Linked DNA regions of Homo sapiens: all the other regions are linked to region 3. Evidence: promoter capture Hi-C in human tissues and cell types (Jung and others, 2019). All regions are on one chromosome and are shown on one strand. The core of a region is centred on a gene start or on the middle of the fragment in contact, and the rest is flanking DNA. Distances in the headings are between cores, read along the strand shown.

The links. The method cuts DNA at HindIII sites, captures the fragments that hold promoters and counts their contacts. A contact is called where the count stands out against the background at its distance.
Region 1: a contact is called between a fragment that was not itself captured here and the fragment with the promoter of BHLHE41 in region 3, in 1 of the 25 tissues and cell types used here (H1 embryonic stem cells).
Region 2: a fragment that was not itself captured here is called in contact with the fragment with the promoter of BHLHE41 in region 3 in 1 of the 25 tissues and cell types used here (spleen).

The regions. Positions count from the first base shown.
Region 1 is chr12:24,930,238-24,934,718 of GRCh38, forward strand. All of the region lies in intron 1 of BCAT1 (branched chain amino acid transaminase 1), which reads right to left. Among named protein-coding and RNA genes, the nearest start is that of BCAT1, 17 kb to the right of the region's middle. RefSeq lists an enhancer at 1,327-1,516. The HindIII fragment of the contact is 4,709 bases long and covers 1-4,446 here.
Region 2 is chr12:27,304,881-27,309,442 of GRCh38, forward strand. It overlaps STK38L (serine/threonine kinase 38 like), which reads left to right. Exons shown (of 14, transcript NM_015000.4): 4 at 3,459-3,581; 5 at 4,234-4,317. Among named protein-coding and RNA genes, the nearest start is that of BMAL2, 26 kb to the right of the region's middle. The HindIII fragment of the contact is 4,420 bases long and covers 1-3,733 here.
Region 3 is chr12:26,123,787-26,128,558 of GRCh38, forward strand. BHLHE41 (basic helix-loop-helix family member e41) reads right to left here and starts at 1,251. Exons shown (of 5, transcript NM_030762.3): 1 at 932-1,251; 2 at 733-796; 3 at 286-393. The coding sequence starts at 993. It also overlaps a transcript of SSPN not described here. RefSeq lists a silencer at 2,663-2,832. The HindIII fragment of the contact is 3,249 bases long and covers 1-1,736 here.

The DNA of each region.
Region 1 (4,481 bases), core at 842-3,341, 1.2 Mb before region 3:
CCTCTAAGGATTCTCCTTCAACCCCAGCTCTGGCATTATTCCCTACACAGCCTCTGACCCCTGGGGTCTCCTTGCCCCAGCAAGTAGCCTTCTTAGACAGTGTCCTTTTGAGGTGTTTCTATGACACCTTTCCTCAGAGTTCACATAGTTCATGACGTCTTTGCTCTACTAAACTCTGGAACTGCAAACTGCACCCACTGAAGACCCCTCTCTTGACTCTAACCACAGGCAGCACCAGCCAGCCTTGACTGTCCCAGGGCAGAGCTGACACTGCTATGTTCCGTACACCAGTGGCACAAGTCAAGTGTTCGCAAGCTACAGATCCTCTAGGCAAAGCATTTCTCACTTAATTTTTAGTGAATGCCCTGTTGGGGGAATGGGAGAATCACTTTTTTACCTCTTCCAGGGTAAAGAAGTTTCCAGAAATGCCAAGCTCTCCTTGCTTGGCTGACAATTTTTTATTTCCAAATAATCTTATTTCCTTTCTGTTCAATTTCCAGCCTTCTATTAAATATAAATTGGAGATAAGTTAGAGGCTAAAGCTTGCAGAATTAGTTTAGTCATCCTTTAGAAGGTTCTTTAGATGTGTCAAACGTGTTTGGAATTTGGAGGTAGTATCCCTCCATGCTCCGCACTGAAGCCTCAGTGGAACAGGGCCCTTTTTTTTTTTTTTTTTTTTTTGAGATAGAGTCTTGCTCTGTCACCCAGGTTGGAGTACAATGGCACACAATCTCAGCTCACTACAACCTCCACCTCCCAGGTTCTGGTGATTCTCCTGTCTCAGCCTCCCAAGTAGCTGGGACTACAGGAGCCCACCACCACGCCTGGCTAAGTTTTTGTATTTTTAGTAGAGACAGGGTTTCATCATGTTGGCCAGACTGGTCTTGAGCTCCTGACCTCAGGTGATCCACTCCCCGCTCAGCCTTCCAAAGTGCTGGGATTACAGGTGTGAGCCACTGCACCTGGCCCAGGATGCTATTTTTTTAAAGGATTAATCAGAAGAAATATGAAGAGTAAAATTTTAAAATTCAGGGGAAAGGCTGAAAGATAACATTGATGAGATCTTTCTCCCACCTCAAAAATTGGACACTAGGAGAGAAAAATTAAATTAGAAGATCAAACAAGGAGGTCTAATGTCAAACAAATAGAAGTTTAAGAATGAGAAAAGAGGGAAAGCAGAGGAGACGAAATCATCAAAGATATAGGAAAGGAAAATTTTCTAGGATGAATGACTAAGGACCCATGTTATGATAAAGCTCCCCAAATTAGCAATAAAAAGAGACCCTGAATACCTCAAGGAACAAAAAACAGGTTACACATAAAAAGGACCTGAAATACGAGCCCCTTTGGACTTCCTATCAGTAACACAGGAAACTAGACAACAGAAAAGCAATTCCCTTAAAATTCTGACGAAAAATCATTTCTAACCTAGGATATTATTCAAAATCAAGTATTAACCTAGAGCAAAAGTAGAACAAAAAGTCAGGCATGTAAGGAATCAAAACATCTACCTCTGATGCACTCTTTATCTAAAAACAACTAGAGCATACGTGCAACACAAATGAGGAAGTAAAGTAAAAAGGAGAACGCCACACGATTCAGAAAACCGGGGATGTAACACAGAGAGAGGGTAAAAGATGCCAAGAGGAAGTCTTAGGCAGGCAGCTGTGCAGCTGGCTCAGAGAGAAACCAGCACAAATTAGTGCAAGAATGAGAATGGTAGCAGAAAGAGTACAGAGACAAAAAAGAAAATGAACTGTCAGATACATTTAACCTAAGTAAAATTACATTGAGAGGCTGTCAGGAAGTTGGGAATTGGAAAGAATTCATAATAAATATATAGTAAGGTAAGTAAATAAAAGGAAATAATGCAAGAATTAACTGCAGGAAAAACAAAATGAGGTATAAGGGGAAAAAAATGTAACCATAGTACACTACTTGACTCACCAGTGACTTTTAAAAATGGAATTCCATCTACTACTCAAAACCTCTCAGGGGCATTTCACCACACTTAGAATAAAATCCACACTTACCAGGACTAAGGAACTTCAATGATGTGGCTCCACTCCTGAAATCTCCCCTCTCAGATTATGCTCTGGGAAGTTTCATTTGCTGTTCCATATGCATGGGACACTCTTACCTCCAGACCATGGTACTCAGGTGTCAGCTGAAAGTTCACCTTTTCTGTGAAGCTTTCCCTGACCAGTCAGTATAAATTTGTACCAGCTTTCTCTCAGTTCTGTCACTACTGCATCATTTCATTTTATTCATATTGCATCACTGACTGAAAATATTTGATATGTTACTATATGAGGATAAATTGTAATAATATTAGTTAATACTTACAGTACTTACATAGTACTTATTTCAGACCAGACCCTGTTATAAGTGCTTTATATTTGTTTTTGGATCTTTGTTGCAGACTGTCTCCTTCTATCGCACAGGCTGGAGTGCAGTGGCACAATCTTAACTCACTGCAACCTCCACCTCCTGGGTTCAAGTGATTCTCCTGCCTCAGCCTCCTGAGTAGCTGGGATTACAGGTGTGTGCCACCATGCCTGGTTAATTTTTTTGGTTTTTTTGTTTTGTTTTGAGATGGAGTCTCGCTCCGTCGCCCAGGCTGGAGTGCAGTGGCGCAACCTCGGCTCACTGCAACTTCTGCCTCCCAGGTTCAAGTGATTCTCCTGCCTCAGCCTCCCGAGTAGCTGGGACTACAGGTGCCCACCACCACACTTGGCTAATTTTTGTATTTTTAGTAGAGACGGGGATTCACCATATTGGCCAGGCTGGTCTCAAACTCCTGACCTTGTGATCCACCCGCCTCGGCCTCCCAAAGTGCTGGGATTACAAGCATGAGCCACCACGCCTGGCCTTTTTTTTTTTTTTTTTTTTTTTTTTTTTTTGTATTTTAAGCAGAGATGAGGTTTCGCTATGTTGGCCAGGCAGGTCTCAGGCTTCTAACCTCAAGTAACCCTCGGGCCTCAGCCTCCCAATGTGCCGAGATTACAGGTGTGCACCACTGTGCCTGGCAACATGTTATTTTATTTAATCCTCACATCATCCATGAGAGGTGGGTTGTACTAATACCACCATTTCATAAACAAAAAAACTGAGGCACAGTTTAATAACTTGCTGGTGGTCACTCAATAGCAAAGCTGGGGCTCACACACCTGCAGTCCAGTCCCAGTTTGTGCTCATAACCATGTGTTATATGGCCTTTCCCTGCAAGTTGCAGGAGAGCTGCAACTTTACCTGCTCTTCACCCTCTGATATGGTTTGGTTTGGCTCTGTGTCCCTACTCAAACCTCATGTGGAATTTTAATCCCCTCACGCCAGGGGAGGAACCTGGTCGAAGGTGATTGGATCTTGGGGGTGAATAGTGAGTGAGTTCTCACTTAAGTGGCTATGTTTTCTGGGGTATATACCCCAGGTTCATCCTCTCATGCCGGGAAAATTCAGAACAGACACACACAGGGAGTTTAGGAGCACAGGTTAATAGGCAGAAGAAGGAGAAAGGAAAACAGCCCTCTCTCTAATGAGAGAGAGGGGACTTCTGAGAGGAAACACCGGCGGGTGGCGAATGCACCAGATTTTATAGTCAGGCTTGAGGAGGTGGTGTCTGATTTACATAGGGCTCACAGATTGGTTCAATCAGGTATGATGTTCACATAGCGCACTGGGAAGGCTGGTCACCCCACCCTAATCTTATTATGCACATGAATTCTCCTCTTGGCCGGCACCAGCTTGTCTGCTCCTTACTGTACACTTGGCTGGCAGAGAAGGGAAAATGGAGCCGCCATCTTAACGTGTCTGGTTCCTAGTTTCTGCCGGCATTCACCCGTGCAAGCTCCCAGCTTGCTTGTCTATGTGTGGGGCTGCTTTTCATTTAAAAGAAAAGCCTTACCAAGGACTCCCGTACCCTCACTATCTACCTAAGTGATTTCTTCTTAACTCCTATATCATCATAAGATCTGATGGTTTAAAAGTGTGGCACTTCTCCCTTCTCACTGTGTCTCCTGCCACCATGTAAGATGTGCCTTGCTTCCTCTTCACCTTCTGCCATGATTGTAAGTTTCCTGAGGCCTTTCTGGCCATGATGAACTGTAATTCAGTTAAACCTCTTTTCTTTATAAATCACCCAGTCTCAGGTAGTTCTTTATAGCAGTGTGAAAACGGACTAATACACCCTCACAGCCTCAAGACCTTGAGCAGTGTCTGATGCTTACATAATGAGTACTCCTCAAATATTTGTTCAATAAATGCATTATAAGAATCTCAGTTATCCTGAGGCAAGAGAAAAGAAGAGGGTACAAACTTTTCTTTTTATTTTTTTGAGACAGAGTTTAACTCTTGTCACCCAGGCTGGAGTGCAGTGGTGCGATCTTGGCTCACTGCAACCTCTGCTCCCAGGTTCAAGCAATTTTCCTGCCTCAGCCTCCCAAGTAGCTGGGACTATAGGTGCACACCACCACGCCCAGCTA
Region 2 (4,562 bases), core at 274-2,773, 1.2 Mb after region 3:
ACTTATATGATTTTTTTTTTGCTTCCACAAAGAAATAGATTAATATTTTTCCTTTTTAAAAAATATTATTTTCTTAAATATTGATCCTTACAGTTTATCTGTTGGCAAAGACATGCCACTTTTCACATTGCTGTAATAAGAGTCCCAGCCCATGTGGACATGCCTCCTAGGGACTCGCATCAGTGGTGGGGACTGACAAATTAGGGAACCAAGGCTCATCTAAAGAGGATTGCTACCATTGGCCCCTGTGGCCAAGGCCCTGTTTTTCCAGAGAAGCTAGTAATCTGGACTTTTTTTGCAGAATAACCAATCACCTGCTTTTGAAAAACAACTTGCAGTCCAAATCAAATATATCTGTAGGTTGAATATAGTTTGTAGCTTCCTGTTTGCAACTTCTGGTCTGCATCAGCAAGTACTGACTACATTTACAGCTATTTTCTCTAATTTTTCTGAATAACTTGTAGAAAATAGGAGATGATTTTTCCATAAAAAATAGTCAGTGGCCCATAATACCAGTTTATAAAACTTCTAATGTTTTTCTCTAAAAAATGTTTTTAATTCCACAGGTGCTTATTATTAGGCTCCATGCTAGAGCCTGGATTATATCAAATTCTGTAAAATAGACAAGCTCTCTCAACCTTAATATAAAGTATGTTACAGCATCTTTATATGGGGTGGGTTTGATAAAAAATAAAATTGTCTCATAAAAATAAAATAGATAAAGTTGCTAGCTGAACCCTTTTCATCTGAAAAATTTTGTATGCACTGTCTGTCTTATACAAATACTGGCCACCCTACAGATGGAGAGTTTGAGGAACACCTATATAAAAAGGAATGGAGAAAGGAAGAAAAGCACTTTCTAGTTTCATCTCACTTAAGAAAATCCCATCCAACATGGAATGTTATTTACTCTAATGAAAAACTAAATAGGCAAGTTCAAGCTATAAAAGAGAGTCGTGAAATGTTAAGCTGTCCACAGATTTTTATTGTCTTCTTTGAAGAGGAAAGGATGCAATTACCACAAGGATACTGTTTGTCTTTCAAGGCTACTTAATCTATACAGGTTGTGAGTAGATATATCAACAGGCTTTTTCACCAATTTTTTTTTTAACATGAATTTGATTCAGCTACCTCTGGACTGCAACACTGATTCTAAGACTAAAATCATGGAATCAATTTTTTTTAACTAATGTAACAATGTTATAGGTGATGCTCATTTTTATAGAATTATGTGTTCCATACACTTGTGACTCTCTCTTTTTGCTATTAAATGGCTGGGCCCAAAACCACATAAATTGTGTGAGTGCTGCATTATACAAACTACTAGACAATTTATGAAACTGTGTATAGTGATGTCATCTTTTCCATTCAGATTAAGCAGGATTTCTGCAACTATATCCAACTGTACTGTTTTATAATCTATAAAGGGAGAGATTCAAAATACTTTCAAAATTCTTATTCTTTTATGTAATTAAAAAAAAACCCTCCTCACTACTTCCTTAAAGGACATGATACTATAGTGCCACCAAGTGGCCTTTTAAAAATTAGTCTTAAAATTTAAAATCAGATACTTTTTAGAGCTCTCTTTTGTTTTACTAGTAATTTATTTTTTTATTATTCAAAAGGTATTTTTGAACACCTATGTGCAAAAAAGGGTATTTGTCATTGCATTTAGGTAAAAAGCAGCAAAAAATAGTCTTCACTATTGTTTCAGGCCACATTTGTTTTCTTAATTATATCAATGTAATTTTAGCTCCGTTAAAACTGATATTTAAGTAGCTTCCCTTAAAGAAAGCAGGAATTTGCCAGTGTTGGTATTTCAGGAATTTTATAAACACACACACACACACACACACACACACACACACACACATATATTTGAGATGGAGTTTCGGTCTTGTCACCCAGGCTGGAGTGCAATGGGATCTCAGCTCACTGCAACCTCTGCCTCCCGGGTTCAAGTGATTCTCCTGCCTCAGCCTCCTGAGTACAGGTGCATGCCACCACGCCCGGCTAATTTTTGTATTTTTAGTAGAGACGGGGTTTTACCATGTTGGCCAGGATGGTCTCGATCTCCTGACTTCATGATCCATCCACCTCGGCCTCCCAAAGTGCTGGGATTATAGGCGTGAGCCACCACACCCGGCTTATCGCCTCACTTCTTACTGAAAAAAATAATCTTTCATTGTTGTTTGCTTACTTTTTCCATAGTACCATTGTATTTTATAATCAATATCAGATGTGGAAAAAGACATTTAAAAAAAGACATTAAAGACATTAAAAAAAGACATTAGGCAAAGCCTGTTAATTTGTGTACTTGATTTTTATCTTCATTACTGTCATAATTTACACCATTGGTGTGCCTTAGTGTATAACTTCATTTAGCTGTTTGAAGACATTTCTTGATTTCATCTTCTTAGATTAACTTTGTTAGAAGTATCAGAATTCCATTGCATTGATAATACATGTTTACATACATATTTCTAATTAATAGTTCACCTAACCCTTTTAAAAACAGATATATACAGGAGTAGGGAGAGGCTATACCATGAGCTGCATTTAGAAGCAATGTTTCTAAGCTGTTACTTTCATTTTGATTTGTCTGTCCCTCCAAACTGAACCACTAAAAGCTTGGCAGGATTCAGTTGAAGATGAACAGGAGTTAAATTTTTTCACTGATATTGTTTCTTTTCCACTTAGTGTTTCCTCTACTAGGAGCTAACTATGTCCAAAAACAGAATTTTGATTGGTGAGGGTGAAAAATGAAGTTTAGAACAATAAAATAAATACCTGTTCCAAATGTAACCTGCAGGTATTTCACAGTATTGCTTATTAATGGAAGTTATTTTTTGTGGTCTTTGTAGAATCAGTTATGAAATTACCAACTTGGATATTTTAATGACTTCTTCTTGTAATTGTTTTTGCAATTTTATATTTTCAGGAAGTTCTATGCCAGGTCTCAAGCAGTTTATTAAAATTTGCCCAAGAGTAAATTCTACCACAAGTAAATCTCTTTGGAAACACTACCATTATGTTGTTATTTTATTGTCACAAGTCTCAGTAGTTGTGAAAGAGCAACCTTGGAAATTAAGGAATTGAAGCAAAGCAGATTTCCTGACAGAATAAAAATCAGTATCAGAATACCATTAACATTTACTAACATTTAATTTTTATTTATGGAATTGTTACCATATAGATGAAAGAATAAGTTATACATATATATATATATAGACAAATATGATGGACTGAATTACATATTTAATGGAGTCCACCTCAAAAGTAAAGATTTATCAGTTGTTAAAAATTTTAGAAAGTTTTCTTTAAATTGTTTTAGCCTAATAGTATATTACATATTAGTGCTATCATTTATTTTTACGTGTATCATCTTTTAATACTAGAAGCTCCATCAAAACAACCTAATTATAAAATCATCCGTTTAAATTGTTTTTTTTTAATAGAAAAAGTTACGTCGATCACAACACGCTCGCAAAGAAACAGAGTTCTTACGGCTCAAAAGGACCAGACTTGGCTTGGATGACTTTGAGTCTCTGAAAGTTATAGGAAGAGGAGCTTTTGGAGAGGTGTGCTTCTTTTTAAAAGTCACTACTGCTGCAAATATATATCTTAAGATAATTTAAAATATGTGTTAAAATATAATTCCTGGCTGGGTGCGGTGGCTCACGCCTGTAATCCCAATACTTTGGGAGGCCGAGGCGGGTGGATCGCCTGAGGTCAGGAGTTCGAGACCAGCCTGGCCAGTGAAACCCCGTCTCTATAAAAATACAAAAATTAGCTGGGCGTGGTGGTGGGCACCTGTAATCCCAGCTACTTGGGAGGCTGAGGCAGGAGAATCGCTTGAGCCCAGGAGGCAGAAGTTGCAGTGAGCTGAGATCCCACCATTGCACTCCAGCCTGGGCAACATGAGTGAAACGCTCTCTCAAAAAAATATATATATGTGTTTGTATGTATATATAAAAAAATATATATAAATATAAATATATATAAATGTAAATATATAAATATATATAAATATATATTAATATATATAAAATATATATAAATATATATATAACATATATAAAAATATATAGATATAAAAATATATAGATATATATATATAAAATTCCTGAAATACCAACACTGGCAAATTCCTGCTTTCTTTAAGGGAAGTTACTTTTCTTTCCTGAACAAATAGTAGTGACTGTTTTATAATATATGTTTTTTATCTTTTAGGTGCGGTTGGTCCAGAAGAAAGATACAGGCCATATCTATGCAATGAAGATATTGAGAAAGTCTGATATGCTTGAAAAAGAGCAGGTATGAGTTCTTTAACACATGTAATATAAAGGAGCATCCACTGACGCAGTGTTAAGAGTGTTTATATTAGAATTTTTAAGAAGCAGTTTACACATCTTACTACATAAGCTATTAATTTTTTGGTAGCCTGTTTTAGTGTTTCTCAGTTCTTTTAAGGTTTCTTCTAAATTTATAATCTATGTATGTCTGCTTAGACTTCCATAACAGAACACAACAGGCTGGTTAGCTTAAACAACAGAAACTTA
Region 3 (4,772 bases), core at 1-2,500:
ACACATTTGGCTTAATTGGCTGTCCATTCAGCACAGCAATTTAAGCAAACACTTTGAAAGAAGTACTGTTCTTTTACTTCTTGAGCTTTCCACAAGACAGGTTATAAATGATTTCTTGCCTTCAGCTGGGAGCACCTACTCCAGTTTGCGGGAAACTCTGTACGGTATAGCACAAGTTTTAAGTCAGGAACTTATATTTACATTTATTCTTATATTTTCTGGGAGTCGCACCAGACTATTAACACGCCCTTGGAGAGCAGCAAAGAATGAAAATGTGCATCTTACTGTCAATTTCAGATGTTCAGGCAGTAAATCTTTCAGCTGAGCAATGCATTCATTAATTCGGTCTCTTCTTTTCTTTTCTATTAATCTGTGCGGTAATTTGTAGGTATCCTTAATATATGAGAGTCATGGAAAAGAGAAAACAGTAAGCGAAACATTCACTTATTGGATATTACCCTCGTCTGCCCCCCCCGCCCCCCCACCATAAAACATACTATGTGATAAACTACACCCAAGAAACCTCTTTCCTCTGGACTGTTCTGCAATGCAATTTAAATTCAGGTATGATGTTTAATATCCCCCTGAGAGTACCCAGCAAGCCACTTAAAATTCACAGTTGGGGAAGCTCAGGGGCTGGAATATATTTGCGGGCAGAGCTTCACTGTGAAATCAATGGCTCTAATTAACTACCCATGCAGGTTATGAGGAATATCGGGAACTTACACTTACCTTGGTGTCGTCTCGTTTCATGCTCCTTTTGGGTTTACACATATACAAAGAGGAATAGTCCAGTCTGCAAAACAGAAATCAGCATCAGGCACCCATTCGGGGAGGGGCTCTGCCCTCGCCAGCTCCATACCACTTTCTGGAGAAGAAAAAAATCAAACCAAAGCCTAGACAGATATTCGCAAGGGTGCGTGCACCTTACCCTATAAAATCTCTATGTTCCAGTAACTGTCTCTCTTGCAAATGAGGAATTCCTTCGTCCATGTTCAACTGCTGTTCGTTTCCTCTGTTTCGATTTTTGGGGCTCTGTACAATAATCTGTGGGACGGTAGGCTTGGGAGACCTTGGGGGGATCTGTGCGTCTCCAGTCTCTCTCTCGCTCTCCCTCTTCAGTGCAGTGTTGAAAGTGTGAAGCAGTTGGTCCCCCCCCTCCACCGCGCTCGCACACACACACGCACACACACGCACACTCGCGCCGGCCCCACTGCGCTGGTAGTTTGCTCTCACTCCAGGCAGTGTTTGGCCACAGGGCACGCGCGTCGCCGGCCAGACCAGCACCCAGCTCACGTGCGGAACGTACCATCCGCGGTCCAGCCCGGAGGGGGGCGGGGGAGGAGGGGCCGGGCCGGGCGGGGGCGTCGGGAGAAGGCGGCGAGAGAAGGCGAACGGCAGGAGGGGGCGGGGACACCTGATCAGGGCCACCGGAAAGGAAAAACAACTTCGGCCAAGCTATTCATCTTCCCAAAGGCGATGCAGTCGGCAGGAGGAGGGGGGAGTGGGGGTGCAGGGGTGCGGGGCAGCCTGAGCTTCCTTGGCTCCAAAATGCGACTCCCTGGGTTCGTCCGTTGTTACGGTGCAGGAATGTGAACGTGGCTTTTTGCTTTTCCACCGATTGTGCTGTTGGTTTGAACCATAGAAAGGAAGTGAAAAGAGAATTCGCGGTGGGTAAACTTGAGTCCCAAAGGAAATTTTGGAGACTTGTTTGCTCACTGATCAGTGGCCTGGAGGGACTCCTTGGCGCTGGGTGGAGAGGTTGCCTCGAGAAGAAGCAACTTGCAATCCGCTCCTTGAAGGATTTAAGATACATGAAAACGTTGTCACTGGGTCCGAATGTCGCAATCCAAGTGTCTTTCGGTGACACGGCGTCCCTGGGCCAACTAAACTTCCCCGCAGCAGCCGGAATTGCGGTGCCACTAATCACAGCAGCAGATGACGACGTTTGGGGCCGCGTGTGCTCCTGGAGGAACGCGGCGGGGAGCGAGCCGGGGTTGAGTGGGGGCTGGGAAGGGAGAAGGGGGTGGCACGAGAGGGGGTGGCACGAGAGGGGCTACCACAGAAAAGCTATGCAGCATTTATCACCCGCCCGCTCAACTCTGCCGCGTTCTGAGCCTCCGGTGACGCTACGTGCTTTCCCCATCCCCCCGCCCCCCCGCGCGATAAGAGACGCCCGGAGTGTGCAGAGCCCACGTTTACTACCGCTGGCACCTCCAAAGCCTCCCTCCTTAATCCGGTCTCAAACGGGTACCAGCACAGGGCCAGCAACGTGATCCGACCTGCCGCTGCTGCCACATCACTGCTCGGGGAACCCGTGCGCGCGCGCGCTCGCCCTGCAGCCGCGGCGCTCGGCGCCGGGAATCACAGGCCAGCAAGAGCCGGGTTACCTTTCCCCAGAGCCACCCTGGGAGCATGACTCACTGCTAGTGAGAGTTACCGGGAGGTGCCCGGGGATGCGCACTGCCCACGCCGCCCTGCCAGCCCAGGGGAAGGCATGTCCTGAGGGACTCCCAGGGGTGGGATGGAGGCTATATATATATTTCTCTAGATATACATAAAGACATAGAGAAAAAAACCAAGGTTTTTCCTGCACAGAGAGGGATATTTACATTCTCCCCGGGGTGATCTCTGAAACGTTGATTATTGCCGGTGATAAGTGAACCGAGGGGAGAAGAACGCCAAAGGTACATGCACCAGGGCGCAGCAGGGACTGGGGCGCCCGCTACGTGTCCCCCGGCCCGCCCCGCCGGGCACGGGTTCCGGGGACGGATCTGGGTCGCGGGAAGCGGCGGCTGGGAGGAGGTCACGTGTCTGCGGGAGTCGCGTCTCCTCCCCGACTCCAGGAGCAGCCCGGGCCGCGGCGGCCGCTCGCGCTGCTGCAGTCTCCGGAGTCCTGGGCGGAGACGCGCACTGCGTCTGGCTTCGTGACTCGGGCGGCGGCGGCGGCCCAGGATCACCCCGGCGTGAGGAGACGCTCGCGGTCCGTTCAGTTCATCTGTTTAGAGGGCCTTTTAAGGTCTCTCGACTTCCTCAAATAGAGGAACGTATTTTGCACCAAACAGGCAATTTAATCACGATGGTTCTTAATTTAAAAAGTATTTTTAAAATGCTGACTTTATTTTAAATCTCGGTCCGACCTCTCTCCTATTTCCAAAAGGTTAGGTAATTAAGACCCTTCGATGGGGAGGGCACGTTGGAGCCCTAAAAGCGACCTATTCCTGCAGTACTGTATCATTTTTACCTCTTTTTAATTGACTAAAAATGGGAATGCCGTTAGGTGAATAATTTAAAAATTAAAACACCAGGTCCCCTTCTAGATTTCTGAATGTTTGGAGTAGAAAGGGGATGTAAATATTTGCTCCAGAGCTAAATTTCACTTGAAAAGGATGACTGGTTAGGGAAAATGAAATAAAGACAAGATCATTGCATTTTGGCCTCGTCGGGCTAAAAACACAAGGCAGACATCTGACCAGGGCAAACCTTAGAAGCTAAGTCTGGGGCAGAGATTAAATGCAAGTTGAAATAGGAGGAACACGATCAGGAGCCTTGAGGCTCAAAGGTGGGTTAAATAAGCTTGCAGCACCCCATAATTTAAAGGGACAAAAAGCTGCAAATGACACATGAAGCTTTTTTCTGTTATCTCTTTGAGGCTCCTCTCTCCCCCCATCCTTTCTGCCCCAAGCTTCCCCACTTCCGTACCCTTTTCCCGTGATACCTACTCAAACTGCAAATGGGGTCTTTTCCCAATTTTTATCTCCTTTGTTGTTCTTGATCCCCTTTTCCTCTTCTTTTCTGTCTTTCCTTTACATATTCACCTTTTAACTCATGTTTCCCTTTTTCATTTCTTCTTTATCTTCCTTTCCCTTATGTTCTCTGTCTACCTTTTCCCTGTTAAATGCCAGCTTTTGCCATTTCTCTGTAGTTCTGTCAATCTCCTGTTTGCTTTTTGCCCTTTTTTTTCTTTGATCTTTCACCCTGGTGACTCTTCTTGGTTACCCACTTCCCTTAAACTTGAATCCCATTCCTGTTCTTTCTCAAACTCTTGGCTTCTGGAATATTGGGCATAGTTTGATGCCTCTGAATATCCCTTTGCGCAAGAAGGGTGTAACAATAGCTAACAACTATATAGCCTTTAAGATTAGAGTACCAGACTGCATTCAAAGAGCTTTTTATGTATTAAGTCATTAATCATTTCCACAACCCTCTAAGGTAGATACTATTATTGTTTCCATTCTACAGATGAGAAAATGCTTACAAAGTGAGATTGCAAAATATTTCCAAGGTCCCAGAGCCAGGATTTAAGCCCAGACAGTGGGTTCGAGAGTCTGGACCCTGGACGACTCTTACACCTCAATGTGAATAGTGAGTGGTAAGGTATAAGTGTTAACTAGCTGCTTCAGGGATGTTTTTCTATTTACCAGTATAAGTGTGCACATTTGTGTGTGTGTGTGAATGAAATTGTGTGGGGAGTTTTGCAAGAGAGATGGAAAAGGGAGAGGTGTTAGCATTGGAGCTGATGACAGAGATAAGAAAAGCTATGGCAAGAAGAGAGGCAGTCTTTTGCCATGTCAGTGAGTCATTCAGTTGGCATCTAGCTTCAAATTTATTGATTTAAATCCAAATATCCTAATTAACTCTTATAATTTTGTACAGATGGACAGATGGAAGTACAGTTTAGAAAAGGCTGATGGTGACCAGCTGTTCACCAGCTCTGCTGAGCAAACTGAGCCAAGCTCTAATGTGAAGACTTCAGGTTAGTAATAGGAAAA